Linked DNA regions of Homo sapiens: region 1 is linked to region 2. Evidence: promoter capture Hi-C in 16 types of primary human blood cells and fetal thymus (Javierre and others, 2016). All regions are on one chromosome and are shown on one strand. Each heading gives the region's core, a stretch centred on a gene start or on the middle of the fragment in contact. The rest is flanking DNA. Distances are from core to core; before and after follow the strand shown.

Evidence for each region. The method cuts DNA at HindIII sites, captures the fragments that hold promoters and counts their contacts. A CHiCAGO score of 5 or more calls a contact.
Region 1: a contact is called between a fragment that was not itself captured here and the fragment with the promoter of LHFPL3 in region 2, in 1 of 17 cell types (endothelial precursors). The highest score is 5.8, in endothelial precursors.

Annotation. Positions count from the first base shown.
Region 1 is chr7:104,848,895-104,856,394 of GRCh38, forward strand. The region is part of intron 2 of LHFPL3 (LHFPL tetraspan subfamily member 3); the gene reads left to right. Among named protein-coding and RNA genes, the nearest start is that of LHFPL3-AS1, 49 kb to the left of the region's middle. The HindIII fragment of the contact is 309 bases long and covers 5,803-6,111 here.
Region 2 is chr7:104,326,333-104,333,505 of GRCh38, forward strand. It overlaps LHFPL3 (LHFPL tetraspan subfamily member 3), which reads left to right and starts at 2,271. Exons shown (of 3, transcript NM_199000.3): 1 at 2,271-2,892. The coding sequence starts at 2,448. The HindIII fragment of the contact is 14,292 bases long and covers 1-4,208 here.

The sequences.
Region 1 (7,500 bases), core at 4,707-7,206, 530 kb after region 2:
TTTTGGTTTTTTTTTTGTTGTTGTTGTTGTTGTTGTAGACAAAATCTCACTCTGTCACCCGGTTTGTCAGATTGCCAGGCTGGAGTGCAGTGGCGTGATCTCAACTCACTGCAACTTCCACCTCTGGAGTCAAGCAATCCTCCCACCTCAGCCTCCCACCCAAGTAGCTGGGACTACAGGCATGTGCTACCACACCCGGCTAATTTTTGTACTTTTAGTAGAGTTGGGGTTTCACTGTGTTGCCCAGGCTGGTCTTGAACTCCTGGGCTCAAGCCATCCACCCACTTCGGCCTCCGGAAGTTCTGGGATTACAGGTGTGAGCCACTGTGCCCAGCCAACTCTGCCTTCTTTTCTGCTTCTAGTTACTCCAGCTTAGTTCTGAGAACTACTAGAAGCTCTAGATTTGGCCAGGCCTTCATGTCTTGCCATAGAGGAAACCCCAAAACTAACTGAGCTCCCGAGAGTCTGAAGAACCAGCCAACAGAGCCTAGCCATCTGACAGAGACACACATTAATTTGCTCCCTCAGGGCCCTGCACAGACCAGCCTGGCTCCTGGGGGCTGGGTGGCCCTGCACTGTGTGGGGGCCAAGGCCCTTGGCCCACTTAAGGTTCACTGAAAAGTCAGTGACATGCGGCAGATTAATTAATAAGAGAAAAGGCATATAAATTTATTTAACATGTATACCTGGGAGCCTTCAGAATGAAGATCCAAAGATTCAGGAGAAATTGCCCATTTTTATGCAGAGGTTCAACAAAGTAGGGACAGCCATATAGAAATGTGATTGGACAAAAAGGTTAGGATCTACTGCTAATAGACTGAGTGGGGAAACCCAGCAGGGCCTCTCTGTCTAGATTCTTCTTGGCCTCTCTGAGCCAGCATTCCTTCCTTCTGGATGTGGGGCAGGACTCTCCCTGGAATGGGGGCCTTATGGCCCATAGTCAAACAAGGTGGATCAGAAAATTCCTTTATGGCCAGTTTTTATACAGATAGAGCAGAGGGAAAGTTAGAGTAATATATTTAGATGTTATGGCTGGCTTTGGAAAAAAAGGGTTCTGGTTTCTGTGACCAGCCTTGGGGAAGAGGAATTCTATTAGGTTCGTGCAAAAGTAATTGTGGTTTTTTTAGGCCGGGCGCGGTGGCTCACGCCTGTAATCCCAGCAGTTTGGGAGGCCAAGGTGGGCGGATCACTTGAGGTTGGGAGTTCGTGACCAGCCTGACCAACATGGAGAAGCCCCGTCTCTACTAAAAATACAAAATTAGCCAGGCGTGGTGGCACATGCCTGTAATCCCAGCTACTCAGGAGGCTGAGGCAGGAGAATCACTTGAACCTGGGAGGCAGAGGTTGCGGTGAGCCGAGATCACACCATTGCACTCCAGCCTGGGCAACAAGAGTGAAACTCCGTCACAAAAAATAAATAAATAAAAGTAATTGCGGTTTTTGCCGTTATCGTTTCTAAGGCTAGCCTTGGGGGAGAATGGGACTGGGAGACAGGAGAGCAAGAGAAGGTCAGAGAAGATCTTTTGCTTCTGAGCCTGCTTCTGAGGGCTTCATTTTGGGTGTTGTTTTCTGAGCCCCAACAACTGCTTCCCCAGACATCCACCTCCTAGACAGACAGAAAACAAGCCCAGCACCACCACTACCTCCAACACCCTGATGCAGAGGGCTTCCCCAGGACAGGAAGTAGGTTACACCTGACTGACATGAAACTAAATTGTTTTAATTGTTCCAAACTAGTGGTTCTCAAAATGTAGTCTCCAGACCAGCAGCATTGCCCAGAAACTTATTAGAAACGCAAGTTTTCAAACCCCAGACCTGCTAAATCAGAAACTGTGGAGGTGAGCCCCAGGAATCTGTATTCCATAAGCCCTCTGGGTGATTCTGAGATACCCCCCCACCCCCGCCAAGGTTTGAGAGCCACTGCTCCAAACACTGATTCTCAAATGACTATAGATAGAAGAGTAAAACTCTCAGTATTTAAAATGTAGGTTCTGACCCCTCACCCACAGAGATTTAGAAGTTCTGCAGTGGCGTGCATAAATCTGCTTTTTGACCATCATTCCAGGTACTTCTGATGTGGGAGACCCACAGGCCACCACTTTGACAGATTCTGCTCTAGAAGGAATAGCACCACCTTTGCTAGTAATTTTACCTTCTCTTAGAGATAAATATTGTTCTCATGTCTTGCCAGTCATGAAAGAGATCTCAGCAAGTATATCATAGTGTTCCAAGTCTTCAGATGGGATTGTAATGTTTACTTTGACACATTAGTTTTTGCTCCCCTTGTAAGGAACATCTCAGTAGTATCTGCATCATAACTCAAAAAAGAAATATTTCTCTGGAAAGAAATATGAATTAGTGAGAGAAAAGAAAGAACAGGAAGCCTGTGGCTGGGTGTTTTCTGAGCATGGGGATACATCTTGGGAGTCTGAGTCTCTGGGCTGGTTGGCTGGGCTCAACCAAGAAGCCATGAGGTATCTCTAGGCTGTGAGTCCATCAGAGAGCAAGTTGCCCCTTCCTTCTTGGAGAGTTGGAGATTTAGTGATGCTTTCCCAATAGGACTCAAGAGGATAGCTGATTATGAAACTGCTAGGGAAAAAAATGGCTTTCAAAATCTGAGGTTATGAGTATACTTGGCTTATACGGCCAACGCATTGGTCACCCTGGAAAAATTAAGTTCATATTTGTGAAGATTGTTGTGAATATAAAGTCCCAACTCTCCTCAACACAGCTCTGGGCCTACTGGGAGCTCCAGAAGAGATTCTTCTTCTGTATCACTTATCTCCCCTATCTAATCCTTCATGGGGTACTGATTTCTTTGGATGTACCCCAAGAGAACTAAAGATACAGAGTCACATTTTCAAGAATTTGACAAGAGCAAAGTAAGAGACTTGGCGCTGAAGCTCCTTGTCACCCGTGACCTAAGATCCACATTGCCCAGGCACCAGCACTGCAAAGATACCATCTGCTTGGGCCGTAGCTTTCTCAGGCTCAAGCCTCTATTTTCAAACCACGTGGGCAGAGCAGGAGAAAAGCTGGGTCCTTCCATCATTCCTTCCTCCTCCCTTCTGTCTCCTTTCCTTATCCATTTACCCACATTCCTTTTCCCACCTTTTCCATGCTTCTGTTACTTCCACCAACTTTTTTCCCTCTCCCTCTCATTTTTCTTAGGCTGCCCACATCCTGGAAAGCAGATACCCCCCAACCCTCACACACACCCCAAAGAGCTCAAAGAGCCTCACCAGCATTAACTGCTGAAGCCATGTGCATCCTACCAGTCAGGGAATGCCACCTTAATTAACTGTAAGACATAATTAAAAGGCAGATCTCCCCTCTCTCAGACACAGAGAGAGAAGGGAAACAAGAAAGGGCAGAGCAGCAAAGGAAAATCCAAAGAGAAGCCACAAATGATTTGAATTTTAAACTTACTCAGTGTCCAGAAATGTGCAGCCTGCTGCCCCCAGCAGTGGGGATCAGGACACTAGGCAGGAAAGGGAGGTGGAGGAGGAGGGCCATGCTGAAAGTAGGGCAGTAGTAAAGAGAAGAGAAGGCTTTTGTCCAGAGAGCAAAGCCAGTCTTCACAGAGCTGTCCTGGTTGGTTAGGAAGAATCCTGTTTGGGAGTTGGGAATAGGCCAGGCTGGCCATGCTGGCAGGAAGCTCTGACTTTTATCTCACTTACCTGTCCTTTGCTCCTGCCCCCAGGGCCAGCTCCATGTTCTTTGCTCCTACACAAGGGCCACATGACCAGTGCAGTCCCACAGGGACCCAAGCTCACAAGGGCTCCCATGCTTTTGGTTTAAAGCTCTGCAGCCCCAGTCTTGACATTGTTAATAGTCGTATCTTTGAATGTGTGTTTTGTAAGTGAACTCTGATGGGACAGTGAGCTACTGGAGCATGGGGCATGGGGGCATGGAGACTGTTCATGGGGCCAGCTTCCTGCTGCCTCCTCCTCCCTCCACCCTCTTCCCAGTCCCACCCCCACCTTCCGGCAGATGGGTTCTCAGCCCACTCTCTTGAACCCTGAAACCCTGAGCCCTGACCAGCCTGCTTTCCCTGTGCCTGCCCAGTAACCACTGCCACCGTCTGCCCGAGGCAGGAGTTTGGGCACAGAGGGGAGGATCATAGTTGAACGTACCCATCCTGAAGCATCTCGGGGCAGGGCATAGCAGTGTCTGTCCCTGCCCAGGACTGGCAGTGCTGCAGTGTGTCTGGTGGACAGTGGACAGAGTCCAGAGCTCAACGAGGAGCAAGCCTATTGCCCACCTCGATCCAGTTACCTAGTAGAGATGTTAGAATACCCTTGGGGTCATTTGTCTGCCCTGGGTTGGGAATACCACCAGTGAGAAGGGGAGGTTCCTCGAGTCAGGGGACAATGAGTTGGGCCAGCAGCTGGTGGGAGAGAGAATCTAAAAAGCCATCAGTCCTGAGTGACAGGCTGTGAGGATCCTAAGTACCCCCATGCCAGAGGGAGTGCTTTCAGCCAGTTCACTTGAGCCTACTCTGTGCCTGGGGGATCTTTCTCTCCCTCCTTCCAACCTTCTGGAATATGTCTGTTTTTGCCTTTTCTGGCCAGCACACAGCACCTTCCAGGGACAAAAATGCAGACTGCGTGACTTCAGTGATTGTACAGATGAGTTAAATGCTCTGACATTTGCATTTAAACTGGCATTGCATGAAATAAAAATGAATGGTAAATTAGTGCTAATTTGATTTATTTTTATTTACTTAGAATGACATTTAAAAGTATATATTCAAAATCCCACAACAAGATGAGAGGGACCACAGGAAAAAGGGAAAATGTTTGTATTTTAGTACCTTTAATGGCACTTTTTCCTGCTTTTTGAACAATTTTCATTTAACACTGGATCTGCAAATTATGTAGCTGGTCCTATCTGCAGCCTAGTTCCACCTTGACTTGGAGATAATCATCTTTGCCTCTATACAATGTTAGAGGTGAAATTCTAATCCTGTAGGGGGAAAACAGTTCCCAATTTCTGACTGTAGGTAATTTCAATCTGATTATCTGTTTACCCACCAGAGAAAAAAAGGAAGAAACTTAAAAGTAAAAAGCAAAGAGGTGCTTGCATTTAGACAAGCATCACAGGGGAGGAAAAACAATTCTCCTTTTACCCTTTTGAGTTCTTAGCTAGGATGAACCCCTGTAATAAAAGACAGGTTAACAAGATAAAAACAAACAGAAGTTTAAGAACATAACTTCACGTATACATAGGAGATACCCAGAGACATGAGCAAATTTCAAAGAGGTGGCTTTAAGTTCAGGCTTAAATACCATCTTCAGCTGAAACAAAGAAAGGAGGGTATTGCAAGGGCCAGTTAGAGGGAGGTGACCAGGAAAAGCATGGTAAACAAGTGGAAGGTTTGTTATCCATATTTGAGTGCATTCTTCATTGATAAGTCTGACTTAGAGTCATCCTTCTTTACTCAATACAGAAGTTCACCCTCATGAATGGAGATTTCCTTTCTGGATGTGAATTTCCCTTACAAAAGGGAACTCCTACCCTGTCTTCAGAGCTTCTCCTGTGTCTGCAGTTTCTCAAAATAATCAGCTCAAAATTATCCTTATACTGAAGAAATGTATTTCAGGATGGCATACTCTAGCTGGTAACTTCCTATATGCACAGGGCAATATGAGATCTATTCATTAATTATGAGAGACTCTCTTCAACAATGTATCTTCTTATACTCAACACAGATTGTCCATACTTCCAGCATATTACAAATGATTTAGGTCATTTATCACCTTCCGGTCTGAAGTCTAGCACCTCAAATGACAATTAATAAGCTTGTAATTTCTCATAGCTTCAGTATGAAAAAAAGGGAATAAAGCAAAATTAAGAAAATATCACTTCTGTAGCACCATTTGTCTAAGTAAAATGTGCAGGGCTACATTTTAAATGATATTTTTTAAAGAGAGAGTACAGCACCTTGGCCCTTCCTCCCAGGTCAAAAAAAAACTATATATAAAGTGAGGCCTGCAATGGCGTATAATTTCTCATAATTACTCTCCATTGACTATTAACGTATCCACCCAAACACACCTTTCTCTGCACTTTTGTGAACCTCAGTAAGCTCTTTAGTCTGGCGTGGGAAGCTTAATGTATTTCCTGTGAAATTGTACCATTCTCCTTGATCAGCTTATCCCAGGTTTGCAAATTGAAAAAACTTCATTCCTGGCATCAGCAGCCTGTTAAATTGGTTCTCATTAATAATTGAATCTTAAGACCGTTTCAAGACATTTATGAGAACAGATTAGTGAGGAGGGGAGAGCGATACCGTGAGACACCGTGTCATGATGGAACAGACCAATGACCTCACCTGGAGGTTAAGTGTGGAGCCCAGACTGGGGGAGCTTAAATCCTTAGAGAAATCCATTATCAAAATACACAGGACATCACCCCTGCAGACTGATGGGCCTACCTACCATTTATTTTCCAGTGATATACTTTTAATGCTGATCAAGATGCATTCTTTTTGGACTTGGAGTGTGACTGCAAGTCACATTCTTATGTTTCACATTAAGCTCTCTTGGATTTTGAATTATGTATAATGGTGTTGCAGAATATTTCTTCCTTTCATCCAGAGGAGAAAATACAATCCTCCTGAAATGTCAGACTAGAGAAACAGATATGCTCCTAGCTTAACAATCCAAAAGAATACCCTTCTGGATGTTTTTCAGACATATGGATATCCAAATAACTCCAGATTTTTCTTTCTTTTTTTTTTTTTAGTCGGAGCCTCGCTCTGTCACCCAGTCTGGAGTGCAGTGGCACAATCTCAGCTCACTGCAACCTCCACCTCCTGGATTCAAGTGATTCTCTTGCCTCAGCTTCACGAGTAGCTGGGATTACAGGTGCACGCCACCACACCAGTTAAAATAGAGACTGGGTTTTACCTTGTTGCCCAGGCTGGTCTCCAACTCCTGACCTCAAGTGATCTGCCTGCCTTGGCCTGCCAATGTGCTGGGATTACAGGCATGAGCCAAATTAACTCCAGATCTTTATAGCAAATCCTTTAAGCGTGTCCATGCTTGCACAACACCAAAACTTGCCTGGCCCAGAATCTCCCAACCCCATCTATGACTGAAGATAATTTCAGTCCTGTTATTCTTTTACCCATGTGAGAAAAAGAAGGAAAACTAATAGTAAAAGAATAAAGAGATTCCTGCATTTAGATGAGCATCTGTCACATTCTTCAGTAACCCCGGGAGTTTCTCAAAGGAGGCCTGTCAGCTGCCTCAAAGTATAATATCAGAACCATCTGGGGGATTGGTTTAGAATGCCAATGCCTGCACTCTGCCCAGATCTCCTGATTCTGTCCCAGGAAATTTTTTTTTTTTTTTTTTTTTTTTTTTTGAGACAGAGTCTTGCTCTGTCACACAGGCTGGAGAGCAGTGGCGCCATCTTGGCTCACCACAACCTCTGCCTCCGGATTCAAGCAATTCTCCTGCCTCAGCCTCCCGAGTAGCCGGGATTACAGGC
Region 2 (7,173 bases), core at 1,021-3,520:
CTTTTTGATTCTCAGCCTTCCCTTCTCAGCCACCTCACATCTCAACCACCCCATGGAAACAGTAAGATTTCTTTCAGGCATTTATTTTAAAGAGAGACTACTTCATACAACCAGGTTTGGGGGATTTGAGGGCTTAAGAGAGTTACTAGAAATTACTGTCAGTTCTTGCTGTAAAGCTATCTCTGCCCCTGGGACGCATGGCCTGCCAAATGGCCTCATAAATCTGATTATTCTCCTTTCCTTTTTCTCTTTCCATGTTAAAATTCTTCTGATTTACCAGCAACTTCAGGAGAGTTAAAACAAATGAAACCTAACAGAAATTCTGACCCTCCACTGCCACCAATGCACTCAAGATGCATCATCATGAACTGTATTTTTAGAGACTTGCAAGTGTTATATTGGGCTAACTCATATTTTGGTCATCTTTGTCACCTCCTCCAAATCCCTCTGATATTTATTTTGAAGACCTTCTGAGAGTCTACAACCACACTTGCTAGAAATTCTTACTCACTTAATCTTACATGTCTCATGCTACTGTTTAATTCTGTTCTCTTGATTTTCAAAGCTCTGTCTGATGGACCTTGTATTACAATGGACCTTGTATAAGATGGACCTTGTCTGATGGACATGTATTACAATACATGAATTACATGCCTATAGAAAAAACTGAATGGAAGATTCTGAAAACTCATGCTTTTAGATGCTTTCCCCAGTTTCAGCAGCAGCCCCTTCATTATCTTATGTGTCTCACACCCCTATTCCACTTTCTCCCCCTCCCTCTTCATAGAATCTCAAATCTTCAGACTATCAAATGAAAAGCATAATTTTCATCACTTAGGTTATGACCCTTCTACCATAGAATAGCCGTTGATATAGCCAATTAGGTAAGACTTAGGGTCCAATTCTATCAGAATTCTCTCTGATAGAAATGCTCAGAAAATTCTGTGATCATATGGTTCAAAACGATTTGTTACCAAAATCCACTCCTACAATTAAGCATTCTGGTTTCATGGCTGGGGGTGGGAGGCAGTTACATGTTTCTTTATATCAGAATCAGAAGGAAACAAACAAAAAAACCAACGGAAATAGGGAAATGCAGTTTGAAAAGTAGAAACTGTTAAAAGAGCAACAGAAAGACTGTTAAAAGGGAAAACATAAGCTAAGGAAACAGCACGAAGGGCAGGTGTACAACAGCAATGCCATGTGAAAATGTAAGGAATTCTATAGTGGTAATTCCGGGATAAATTAGCCTGAAAACAGCTCTCTGGTTAGCTTTGGGTTGTAGGGGGAGATGGAAGTTCCTGGACAATTAACCATCTGCTATGTCTTTTTGTACCCTTACCACCCAGCTCAGCGTCTGGGCACAGAGTAGCTGTCAATATTTGTATAGTAAGTGTAACACTGGCCGAACTACCCTGTTTTCAAACAAACTATAAAATTCTGTGACACAGTCCCTTCCAAGCACACACAGGCCCAATCTATGGAAGGAATTATCGGGGAAACGACCTAAAGGAAAGTATGGGGCATCCATTGGCTACAGTTCAGCTGGCTGCTTGGGGGAAAAACGCAAAGAGGACGCAAGCTCAGCTGTGCTTGATGTGAGACCACCCTTGAGATTTGTCTTTTACATTATTGTCTGCCAGGCTCCTGCGCAACTTCTATCTCCACCTGTGGACCTGAAGGCAACCGAGGAGTTAGCCAGGGGCAGTTCTGTGGTAACAAGAAAGACTCTTGGGGGCTGTATGCCTCCACTGCCTTGGCGCCTCTTGCCTGCAATTGCCGCGCTGCCCCTCGTGCCTCTGCAAAGATGCAGAGGTCGAAGCACGTTTCTGTGCGGTGATGAAATGCTCGCTGAATCAGCCTCTCGAGCCCGGCCTCTCACACCCACCAGGATCCTGGGGTTGTCTCTAGGATCCCTGTGGGTGCTCCTGCCACCTTCTTAGACTACCCTCGCCCTCCTAATCCAGGCCCACTTCTCTGGCTCATGTCCACCCCTTGATGGGCGTTCCGGGGTCGTCACTGTCCTCTGCGCCCCTGGGCACTGGCAGCGCGGGCCGGGCAGCGGGGAGGGAGGCGGGAAGCAGAGCGGGAGGCGCCCCGGGCTTGCGCGCCGCGGTGCTCCACGAGGGATTTGCCGCCTTCAGCTGCAGCAGCTGCAGCGGCGGCGGCGGGAAGAGGGGTGGAGGGTGGTGAGGAGGGCCGGAGCCCGGGCCAGGAGGGAGGGAGGGGAGCCGGGAGGCTGTGCCAGGCGAGCCGGAGGGGTGCTCCGCGCTCCCCCGCCCTCCTTCCGGGAGCGAGGATGCAGACTCTGAAACTGGTGCTGCTGGGCTGAGGCGGAGGCAGGGGAGTTGCAGCGCGCGAGGCTCCGTGAGTGTGTCTCCTGCGCGCTGAGAGGCGGGGGGAGGCGGAGGACCAGGAGGAGGAGGAGGAGGAGGAGGAGGGGGAGAATGCCCGGAGCCGCCGCCGCTGCCGCCGCCGCCGCCGCCGCGATGCTCCCGGCTCAGGAGGCTGCCAAGCTGTACCACACCAACTATGTGCGGAACTCGCGGGCCATCGGCGTGCTGTGGGCCATCTTCACCATCTGCTTTGCCATCGTCAACGTGGTGTGCTTCATCCAGCCCTACTGGATAGGCGACGGCGTGGACACCCCGCAAGCCGGCTATTTCGGGCTCTTCCACTACTGCATCGGCAACGGCTTCTCCCGGGAGCTGACCTGCAGGGGCAGCTTCACGGACTTCTCCACGCTGCCCTCGGGCGCCTTCAAAGCCGCCTCCTTCTTTATCGGCCTCTCCATGATGCTCATCATTGCCTGCATCATTTGCTTTACCCTCTTCTTCTTCTGCAACACGGCCACTGTGTACAAGATATGTGCCTGGATGCAGCTCACCTCCGGTGAGTGCGCGCTCACCTCCGCGGAGGCGGAGGACCCCGGGGCGCCCGAGCCGGGGAGGGGCCAGAGTGGGAGGGACGGGGGCTGTGCGCGCCGCTGCGAGCCAAGCCGCCTAATCCGCTCAGGCGTCGAGGTGTGGGGGGCGGGAGCCCAGCGAGGCCGGAACCCCCGGGGTTCCCCAGCCCCGGCGCTGGCGCCTCGTCCCGGGGCTTTCGTGAGCCTCCCAAGTGTGGGGGACGCCCACTCAGAGGGACGCCCCGGAGGCAGGGCGGTTGTGGGGCCGAGTCCGCTCAGAACTAAGGATGGTGGGTGGAGAAGTGGCCGCTTAGAGAGATGGGGCCGGGGTTCCGTGCTGAGGGACTAAGGAGGGACTGACAGGGCGAAGTGAAAAGCGGATTTGGAGAGGTCATAGTGGAAGGAGCAGCCAGCCTGCCCTGCCCCTCGCTGCTGGGACTATTTCTGTCATTGATCCTGGGAAAGGGGGCGGGGGGCGGTGGCTGGAGTGATACTGTTTCTTTCCATCCCGGGCAGTTAAATATGTTTACTCCTCCATCCGGAGGTGAAGAGATCTTAATTCTGTTTTGGGTTTCCCCTTGTAAGAAGAATGTAGCTTAGAACATTCTTTCGCAATTCCTCAATGTCAAGTCTTCAGTTTGCCTCCTTGTCCGTGCAAAGTTCCTTCCATTTCATCTTTAAACAGAAGTCTTTAGTAAATCAAGATTCCTCAAGATCTCATTTTTGGGAAGTGGCTTTGGGGAAGTAGGCAGAGAGGAGAATGTTTCATTAGCATCTCCGATCACTCTTTCCCTGTGGATGATAAATTGTTGCTAGCTGGAGGATATGAAAGTACTTTTTTTCTGTGCATCAAAGTTACTTTTAACCCAGAAAGGATGGGGTACATTTCCTGGTGACTTTGAAGAGTCCTGAAACAAAACTGACTCCTTGCTGTACTTCCCCTGATGGCGATTGCCTCTCTGCCAGCCAGCTTGGATGCCCTCCCTTCTAAAGTCAAGGGTCCAGTGGTCGTGACACATTTCTGTTCCAACATTGTTGAGGTCCTTTTGATTTTATGGATGGTCTGGTTGTAGAAGGGCACTGAATATCTTAGGCAGCTAAAGTTTTCATTTGCGTTTTCTTTTACTGTTCTCATTTTTAAGATGTTTCAAGATTTTGTCGTTTATTCTATTCCTGGGAAGGTTTTCTGGGGAGAGGGATTCAATCCCTGACAGAGTGTTGTAGGATGAGTAGATACTTAAAGGTGCTGGACAATAGCGTTAAGGTTCATAGTCCTATATTGCTAGTTTGATAAGGAAAGAGAAGCTTGTGGGAGACTACACTTGTGTGAAAGTATTTATTTTGTGTTTTGGCTCGCCTGATATTGATTTGCCATATATTGTAAAAGTGTGTATGTGAAAAGCAAGAAATGAGCAGCAGTAGAGACTCCCTCCTTTACACATACCATTATCTCCTGAACGGGGAGTTCTGCGTCTCCTTCTGCACCCCCATCCCCAACTTTTTCTAGCAATTCCTCACTCTATGTTTTTATATATAAAGTTAACTTTTATGGCCATTTCAAGCAGAATAACTAAGATTTGGAATAAATTCATGTATTATGGCTGTTCTTGACACTTAGCTCTGGTTTGACTTTGAAGAGGACACACACATGCAGATGCTGTAGAAAAAGAATTGACCCTGCACAGCTAATTTTAATTTTTCTAAGTTAAATGACCTATTTAGACAGGTGATTCAAATTACATCGTTTTTAAAAGGTCTGAAAATACTTTGCAGGTGCTTTCTCAACAACGTATTCTTCAATGTTTGATTTTTATGAGGTTTCCTACTCTAACCCCCCGCTTTTTGAAAGACAAAAAGAAAATGATCTTTGAGAAAGAAATACCAGCTTTGAAGTTAATACAAACTGCAACCATTACAAGGTTTTTTTGTTTTGTTTCGTTTTTCTCCTTTTCTCTTTCTGGAATAGAGCACAGAAAAATTGTCTGTCCTGGAGCAGTGAAATATAATGTTGTTCTCAGGCATTTGACATCAATGTTTATCCTGTTTTCCACGTCATGTAAAATGTGGGGATAGTTTTTGTACTAAAGATGTAAGGACATTTACTTCATTTTGGAGAAGTCCGGATCCTTAAGTGACATACTTTTTAAAACCTTTATTTGCAATTATTTGGCATTTTATTTCTAGGTAAACTATAGTACATGATTTTGTTCATTAGTGAAGTATATTAATAAAAGAAAAATTGATTCTGATGACAGGTCAAATAAGGATCTGTCACTCATTCACAGATTTTTAAGGAATAACATAGAAGATATTTCTAAACAATGTTACATTTAACATGGTTTTCAGGATTTTTCTAAAAAAATTAAGTCTCATTATACTAACAAAAAATTTAATATAAACTATTGTAAGTTACTTTGAAAGTTTAGTCTAGGCCGGGCGCAGTGGCTCATGCCTGTAATCTCAGCACTTTGGGAGGCTGAGGTAGGTGGATCATTTGAGGTCAGGAGTTCAAAACCAGCCTGGCCAACATGGTGAAACTCCATCTCTACTAAAAATACAAAAATTAGCCAGGCGTGGTGGTGGGTGCCTGTAATCCCAGCTACTTGGGAGGCTGAGGCAGGAGAATCTCTTGAGCTTGGGAGGCGGAAGCTGCAGTGAGCCGAGATTGCACCAGTGCACTCTAGTCTGGGAAACAGAGCGAGACCCCATCTCAAAAAAAAAAAAGAAAAAGAAAGTTTAGACTTTAGACTATTCCTCTTTAATGTTAAGTAGTCTTCTCCTACCTATTTGTTTACCAGTACCTAGGCTAATCTCAAGTGTAATTTGCTAAATATGAAAGATGAGACCTTAGTGTACTATTTGCTTATTAGAGACTATCCCTCATTGGAAATCAAACTATTCGCTTGTGTATTTAGTTATCTAAGCCTTTTTAATATACTAACATCCTATATGTAGTCAGGTAGAATATAAAATCCTATTTCTTTTCTTTTTTTTTTTTTTTTTTTTTTTTGAGATGGAGTCTCGCTCTGTCACCCAGGCTGGAGTGCAGTGGTGTGATCTCGGCTCACTGAAACCTCTACCTCCTGAGTTCAAGTGATTCTCCTGTTTCAGCCTCTTGAGTAGCTAGGGCTACAGGCGTGTGCCACCACACCAGGCTAATTTTTTGTATTTTTAATAGAGACAAGGTTTCACCATGTTGGCCAGGCTGGTCTGGAACTCCTCACCTCAAGCAATCCGACTGCCATGGCCTCCCAAAGTGCTGGGATTACAGGCGTGAGCCACTGCACCCAGCCAAAATCCTATTTCAAGTGATACATTAAGATGATGAAACAGACTTCTTATGATATTACAATATAAAAAATTATTATTTTTATGATTCTGAACGATGAACCAGAAAAATTAATTTATTTATTGGACCTGAAAATGATGTTGCTCGTTCATCTAGGTGTGTGAAGCACATTTAATTTTCGTGCCGTTATGAACACCTTATCCTCTCCCTCCTCACTCTAAGTCTTTATCAAACACAGTAGCATGAAACTAGGAAGCACAGAATTAGGAGCTAATATATCATACTATCTTTGGATGTCATCCTGTATGTACAGACCATGTCTTATATAAAAACTGGAGACATAAAAATAATACATAAAATAATGATAATAAGAGATATAAAACTTTCCTAAATCTGTAGAAAGGCAATTTCTTCAGAAGGAAAAAAAAAAAAAGAGGCTTTCTGTGTGATTTCTCTGACACTAAAAGGAAAAGAGTAGATTTGTAATTGGTCAAGCAGGGTAATAAAGTCCAGATTTTTAAAAAATCAGGATAGAAAGGGAATTTTCTTCCCCTGGGAACCTTATTTTCTGCTTCTATGTTCTTGTTCTCTTTAAGTCAATATTTCAGTTGGTTTCTGAGTCTACTAATAACCACATTTTATAAACCACACTTTGTTTGTTCTAGTGACTATAAGCCATACCTTGAATTGTTTCCAGAAGCCCATGTGTTCACCATATTAGGCCAAAGAAATCTTTAGTTTTCTTTTCTTTTTATAAGCTGAAGTATTCAGTGGAACTTAAGGTTTTGTAGACATCGGTCATGCATTTCTTGGTCAAAGGCAACAGATGTGGAAAGATACTCGCTTTCATCTGTGGAGATGGGACACCTGATCCAGATTGGATTTTCTTATTAAGGAGAGATGAGGACAGAATGGGTTGTACTCCCCAGATTCCTCATCTGTATCATTCTGAGTGTACCAGCAAGAAGGGCCAGCAAGA